2 separate regions of the Homo sapiens genome follow, and region 2 is linked to region 1. The links are contacts of gene promoters, found by promoter capture Hi-C in blood cells and fetal thymus (Javierre and others, 2016). All regions are on one chromosome and are shown on one strand. Each heading gives the region's core, a stretch centred on a gene start or on the middle of the fragment in contact. The rest is flanking DNA. Distances are from core to core; before and after follow the strand shown. Region 1 holds the start of CTLA4 (cytotoxic T-lymphocyte associated protein 4). Region 2 has its middle 59 kb from the start of RAPH1.

Region 1 (3,520 bases), core at 102-2,601:
GTGCATCACACCAACATGGCACATGTATACATATGTAACAAATCTGCATGTTGTGCACATGTACCCTAAAACTTAAAGTATAATAATAATAAAATTTTAAAAAAAAAAAGAAGAGGCTTCCTGGAGGAGATGACAGCTGAGCTAAGTCCTGGAGGATGAGAAGGAGTATAAAATAAGATAATAGGAGAAAAAAGGCAGTAGGAACAGCATGGGTAAAGGTGATGAGGCCTGAAAGAGGCACGTGGAAGGAAAGACAAATGCAGGAAGGGGGAATGGGAGGGAATGCTGGGGTACAGGCCAAAGAGGGAGGCATTTGGTGAGTATTCTGCAGAGTCTCCTCTGCTGTGCTGAGGTGTGGACAATGGGAAACCATGGACGGACTGGAGTAGGCAAATGTCATATTCCCTGTTACAACTGTCTGTTTGCATGTCAGCCTTCTAGAAGCCCCTTAAGGTATCAACTATGTTTTTGTTTTGTCATCATTCAATCCTAAGTGCACAGAATTCCGGGCATATTACAGGTTCCCCATGAATGTTTCTTTCTTTATTAAAATGTATGAAAACTCTCCAGATTTAAGGAAGGTCCTCAATGTTTCAAATTCTTTTTGTTAGATCATTGGTCCTGTCTACAGCTGTCACAAATTTAAGGACTCTGGTTATATTTAATCTTCACTTTTGAATTTTCTGCTTGAAAAATTTGTATTAGAAAAAAAAGTCTATCCTTTTATGGACGGCTCTAATCTCTTGAATCATTTGGGTTGGCTTTTCTTTGGACCTTCTTCAACTCTGTTTTGTCTCTGTTGAGTTAAGGCTTTTAAGAACACCTGAATTCTTTCCTTCTGCAAAACCAGAGGCAGCTTCTTTTCCGCCTATTTTCAGTTTATTTCTTGTGATTTTAGTTTTTTTCTCTTAACCAAATGCTAAATGGATTTAGGAGAAATAAACTTATTTGTAAAGCTGTCAAGGGACCATTAGAAGGATGGTGCTTCACAGATAGAATACAGTTTTTATTAATGATGCCTAGACAAATCCTGCCATTAGCCCAAGGGCTCAGAAAGTTAGCAGCCTAGTAGTTTTGGAGTTGTCAATGAAATGAATTGGACTGGATGGTTAAGGATGCCCAGAAGATTGAATAAAATTGGGATTTAGGAGGACCCTTGTACTCCAGGAAATTCTCCAAGTCTCCACTTAGTTATCCAGATCCTCAAAGTGAACATGAAGCTTCAGTTTCAAATTGAATACATTTTCCATCCATGGATTGGCTTGTTTTGTTCAGTTGAGTGCTTGAGGTTGTCTTTTCGACGTAACAGCTAAACCCACGGCTTCCTTTCTCGTAAAACCAAAACAAAAAGGCTTTCTATTCAAGTGCCTTCTGTGTGTGCACATGTGTAATACATATCTGGGATCAAAGCTATCTATATAAAGTCCTTGATTCTGTGTGGGTTCAAACACATTTCAAAGCTTCAGGATCCTGAAAGGTTTTGCTCTACTTCCTGAAGACCTGAACACCGCTCCCATAAAGCCATGGCTTGCCTTGGATTTCAGCGGCACAAGGCTCAGCTGAACCTGGCTACCAGGACCTGGCCCTGCACTCTCCTGTTTTTTCTTCTCTTCATCCCTGTCTTCTGCAAAGGTGAGTGAGACTTTTGGAGCATGAAGATGGAGGAGGTGTTTCTCCTACCTGGGTTTCATTTGTTTCAGCAGTCAAAGGCAGTGATTTATAGCAAAGCCAGAAGTTAAAGGTAAAACTCCAATCTGGCTTGGCTGGCTCTGTATTCCAGGGCCAGCAGGGAGCAGTTGGGCGGCAGCAAATAAGGCAAAGAGATAGCTCAGAACAGAGCGCCAGGTATTTAGTAGGGGCTTCATGAATGCATGTGAGTTGGTTTAGTAGAGAGACACAGGCAATTTCAGACCCTTCTATGAGACTGGAAGTGATTTAAGAGGGAAAGGATAGCCATAGTCCTGAATACATTTGAGCTGGGTTTCAGGATGAGCTCACAAGTTCCTTTAAAAAAAATTGACTTAAGCAAATCCTGGGAAGAGTTTTTTTGCTATACAATTCAAGGTTTTAAGGTCCTCGGATTCATATACTTTATAAATGAATTAGCCAGCTTGTTTAAAATGTAGGGAAATTGTGGGAAGAATGCCTTCTTTACTTAATTCAAGGTTTTAAGGTTCTCTTAATCAATTCTACTAGCTAATTAGCCAATTATTTAAAAATAAAAGTTTGAAATTGCCAAAAAAAAAAGACAAGGAAAAGGAAAGAAAGAAAGCCACCAGTCTGTTTGGCATACAATACTTAATTGTTGCCTGACCTACGTGTGGGTTTCAGATGCAGATCCTCAGTTTTCAGCTCTTCAGAGACTGACACCAGGTTTGTTACACGGCTTAAAATGATGAGTATATCCATTGAATCTCAACCTTATCTCTCTCTAGACCTTCTTGGTTAAGAAACCATGTAGTTTGTATGAAGTAGGTACTCAAAAGATATTTGATGATTTAATTTTTACTGGAGAAGAAATATTCATATATGTTTTCTTATTTTTACATGTTTTAAATATGTAAAGATTAAATAAACACTCTTAGAAGTATTTAAATTTCCTAAAGTAAATTTATCTCAACCAGTAACAGGACCCTCCCAATACTGGAAAGTTGAGTGTGACCGCATTTAGTGGTGATGAGTGTGAGCTTGCTTGGGGAGAGGGCAGGACATTTAGGATTTCTTAAGCTTAGAGTCAATACAATAAAGATTATTGAGTGCTCACTTGGGTGGGCTATAATCACTGCTCACAGGAGTTCATGAACCACAAGTAAAAGAGTGAGGAGATATGATTAGCTCACAAATAACTTTAATACAGAGCAGAAAGTAATGAACTACTGCAATGGAGTTATCACAGTGCTAAGGATGCTCAGAGGGCATCTCTGATAGGCAGAGGTGAGGGTTAGGGAAGGAAGCTGTAGTCTAGCTAGCTAGAGCTGCTGGAATAGACATGACAATGGCTGCTGCCAAACTGTTTTCTCTTCTGAGGACAGATGTCCCGTGCAAGTGGCTTGGTGGAAGGGACTAGTGTCTCTAATATAGGGTGATTTATAAGCAGGAAAGTGTGTCCTAGAAATTCAGACCAGAGTGATAGATTGGAATTGGATCATGGGGGACTCATTGAATGTTATTTATTGTATTTGTTTTTGCGATCAGTGTTAGTAAAGTGTCAAAGGGATTGAGCAGATGAGTGACATCATGCAACACAAGTTTTGAGTTTCACTTGTCAGACTGACTGGAGAGGGGCCTGGTTAGTTACAGGAAGGTAATTTGGCATGCAGCCACTATTTTTGAGTTGATGCAAGCCTCTCTGTATGGAGAGCTGGTCTCCTTTATCCTGTGGGAAAAGAGAACAAAGGAGCATGGGAGTGTTCAAGGGAAGGAGAAATAAAGGGCAGAGAGGCAGCGGTGGTGTCAGGGGAAGCCCACAGGAGTTAACAGCAGGGTTGCCTCAACCTAGAGAGGAAGCGACCTGGTGCCC
Region 2 (3,874 bases), core at 63-2,562, 270 kb before region 1:
GAACTGTGCTAAAGGTGCCTTACTGTAGCTGGGAGGTGGCATCCACTAGTGGGGCTGCCAATCAAAGGGCCTTGCCTCCCCCATTGCAAAAGTAGGTGTATGTGCAGGCTGACCAATTAGGACAACCTGTTTCCAGGTGACGGTGATGGGTCTGGAGGTGGGCACATGACTCAAGCAGGGCCAAGCAGAGTCCTTGTCTGTAGAGGGTTAGGAATGGCAAAAGTCTTTCTCTTCCTGAGATCATGAACTGTAAACATTATGCATACTTGTTGTGTCCAGAATTGTCTTTCCCTTCACGTGGTAAGAGCTTGCTGGAGAAAGAAGCCAATTCAGAGAGAAGTGAGTTGAGAGACAGAAACAGAGTCCACCTGATTCATGATTACATTGATGGAAAAAAAAAGACTCAGGGATCTGTTTTCTTTTAATTTTTTTATTATTTATTTATTGAGACGGAGTCTCACTTCCCCAGGCTGGAGTGCAGCAGCTGGATCTCGGCTCACTGCAAGCTCCACCTCCCGGGTTCACGCCATTCTCTTGCCTCAGCCCCCCGAGTAGCTGGGATTACAGGCACCCGCCAACACGCCCAGCTAATGTTTGATATTTTTAGTAGAGACGAGGTTTCACCGTGTTAGCCAGGATGGTCTCGATCTCCTGACCTCGTGATCCGTCTGCCTTGGCCTCCCAAAGTGCTGGGAGTACAGGCGTGAGCCACCGCGCCCAGCCTTTATTTTTTATTTTTAGAAGTCTTGGACCAATGGTGCACGGAGCTGAGTAAATCATACTCCTCAGTTCTTGACATACATCACTACTTGGTGTGTAAAAGACAACATTCACTTAAAAAATTACTGTTCTTCATCCAGCATTCCCTCTCTCATTCTCCTGTTACTACAGGCACCACTTAAATGTGTTTATGTATTTTTCAAAGATACATACATACCCAATAACATATATTGGCATCGTTTTGTGTATATATGTGTTTTTAATATAAATTTAAATTAAAAAGGTAATACAAATGGCATTATATTATAGATTTCACTAAGATTCTTTTTTTTTGTTTTTAACCCAGTACTGTGTTTTAAAGTTCTCACCACACTACTGTATATAACCCATTGGCCCAACTGTGGCTAGAGCTCCTAGGTTCAGTAAAGCTCCGACTACCATGAACAATGCTGTCATTGACATCTTCATGCAGGTCTAGGGATATATGCAGAAATGGAATTGCTAACACTAACTTCAGGACATTTTAATTACTGCATAATTAATGCATTCTCTTTTTGCATAAGCCATTGTTAATGAGTTTATGTGACTTTTACCCAAAGGATGCCTGGTTAATCCTTGCCTGTTGAAGGTGAAGGGTACCATGTCCTATCTGCTGGCCACCTCTAACTTTCTTAGGAGAGGCCAAAAATAAAGTAGCCTTTTTCCATGTCCCTTCAGCACTCCCAGCCATGCTTTTATTTACTTATTTATTTTTTAGAGACAAGGTCTTGCTTTGTCACCCAGGGAGGAGTGCAGTGATGTGATTCTAGTTCACTGCAGTCTCTAACTCCTGGGCTGAAGGCATCCTATTGCCTCAGGCTCTCAAGTAGCTGGGACTACAGGCAGGTATGACCATGCCTGGATAATTAAAAAATTTTTTTTTCCTGTAGAGACAGGGTCTTGCTACGTTGCCAAGGGTACTCTTAAACTCCTGGCCTGAAGCAATCCTCCTGCCTCAGCCTCCTGAAGTGCTGAGATTAAAGATGTGAGCCACCATGCCCGGCACACCCATGCTTTTACACTCAATAATTGGTGCCTCCTTTGGAAAAAGTCTCAATACTTCTGTTTCACGTGATGGATAATACGCATCTATAGGTGTTGTTTTATTGAAAAAGTGTTTTAATTTTTAAAAATCCATGTTAAATGTTCAGAACATAGAAAAATATTTTCAAACTTTGGAATTGCAATTATGTTTGCAGCAGAGATATCTATTAATGCTAAAAATACTTTACTAGATCAATCATCTTAATAATAAAATCTTATTAAAACAGTCTTTTCTCACCACAGGAATGCTAGTTATGAGACTTTGGTTAGGGAGATTTCCTTCTGCAATCCATAGATCTTTCTCCAAGTGTTTTTTGTTTACTGAACATTTTGAGATTTCTCAGAAGTCTTCCTGTGAGACACTGCTACAGAAACCCCCTTTCCATACACAAAGGTCAGCTGAAGTAGCTGAAGGATAATGAAATAGTCCTCTGTTCCTTGATTATGAGCTGATAGCAATCATATGAAGTTCAACAGAGATGAAGTCAATGCACATAAATATAAAAGTATTCATTGATGTTAACCCTAACATTAAACAGGTTCAGGAAGGGGTAGGCCTGGTTTGATAGCAGCTCATGTGAAAAAGACACAGAGGCAATGCATGTGTGGGGATAGGGGGAATATGGGAAATCTTTGTACCTTTCAGTCAATTTTGCTGTGAACCTGAAGCTGTTCTAAAATGTAGTCTATTAAAAAAGGAAAAAAAGGAGAGATATTAATTGACCTTAACTTAATATATAGCAACAGTCTGTAAAGGCTGTTAGATGCACCAATGCAATGTAATGGAAGTGTTATCCTGTGCTCAGCCTGGGGGCCAGGGAAAAGAATCACTCTCTTCTCCTTTCTAGTTTTACCATTTCTGGGGTGTTATTCTGAGAACCAAGCTTAAAAGAGACAAAGACAAGTGAGAGGCTTGTAGATTAGGACAATTAGCATGGAAAATAAATTTAGAAACTATAATGCCAGGAAAGACCAAGGGAATACCAGCTGCCTTCAAATACTTGGAGGACTTAGGTGTGAATAATGGCAACATTTTAACTTAGGTAGCATCTCACAATTTCCAAAGCGCCTTTATTTTTATTATTTAATTTGATGCTTATATTGGCTTTGTGAGGTAGACCTTTATAAAACGGTAAGCTGTTTTATAAAGGAGGAAACTCAAGCTCAAAGAGATTAACTTCATTTTGCTCTAAGTAGGATGGTGGTTAAGTGGAGATGTTGGGACAAGAATGCAGGCCTCTTGAATTATATTTAGTGTTCTTTCAATGACATAAGACATCCTGTGCTTTTGTAGAAAGTGAACTAAGGGCCAATGGTAGTGAAGCAGAAGGCAGTGAATTCAATATAAAAATTTTTCAAAAACACTGGCAAGAACTTTCCGATAATGGAAGGGCCAGCCCCCCAAAGTTGTCAACTTTTCCAGTGGAAATTAGATAATCGTCCTTCAGGGATATTGTAGCAAAGATTCCAGTATGGAAAGACACTGGACAATCTTACTGGTTTCCATAACTGTTATTTTATTTGTATTAGACTGAGAAAGAAACAAACATATAAATATGCTGGCAACCTGCTGTGTTTTCATTAATCAGTTTGCTAACTAGGGCTGAAATCTGAAAACAAAATTCCATTTGAAAAATATTATTCAGGCTGGGTGGCAGATGAATGACTCATTGATATGTTTTTGTCAATCTTAATTCTGTTTACTTACTGGTCATAGTACATTGGTGTTGATTTCTCTTATACTTCAGCCATGTCTCTTAATACCAGTTACACTGAGAGACAAAGAACAAGAGAATAATTACGAAAAATCAGACTTTGGGAACTGAGCTGTCTGGGTTGAGGTCACCTCAAAAGCTCACGAAGTCTGATGTTTGTGCAGCCTCAAGTATATTTTTTACTGTGTGTCTGAAGCTCATGACACGATCAAGGTTAGTAACTATGGAGACTGGTGTGATTTATTTACCACTGAGGAGGTTTAGCACTGACAGAATCAGAACAGGCTTCCTCATGCAAACGGAGTGCCTGCCTATCCTTATTAAGGGGATCTGGGGAAAAAAAGATGAATTAATGC

What was found. The method cuts DNA at HindIII sites, captures the fragments that hold promoters and counts their contacts. A CHiCAGO score of 5 or more calls a contact.
Region 2: a fragment that was not itself captured here is called in contact with the fragment with the promoter of CTLA4 in region 1 in 1 of 17 cell types (monocytes); the score reaches 6.1 in monocytes.

What each region holds. Positions count from the first base shown.
Region 1 is chr2:203,866,420-203,869,939 of GRCh38, forward strand. CTLA4 (cytotoxic T-lymphocyte associated protein 4) reads left to right here and starts at 1,352. Exons shown (of 4, transcript NM_005214.5): 1 at 1,352-1,632. The coding sequence starts at 1,524. The HindIII fragment of the contact is 240 bases long and covers 1,219-1,458 here.
Region 2 is chr2:203,592,640-203,596,513 of GRCh38, forward strand. No RefSeq gene overlaps it. Among named protein-coding and RNA genes, the nearest start is that of RAPH1, 59 kb to the left of the region's middle. The HindIII fragment of the contact is 2,745 bases long and covers 1-2,685 here.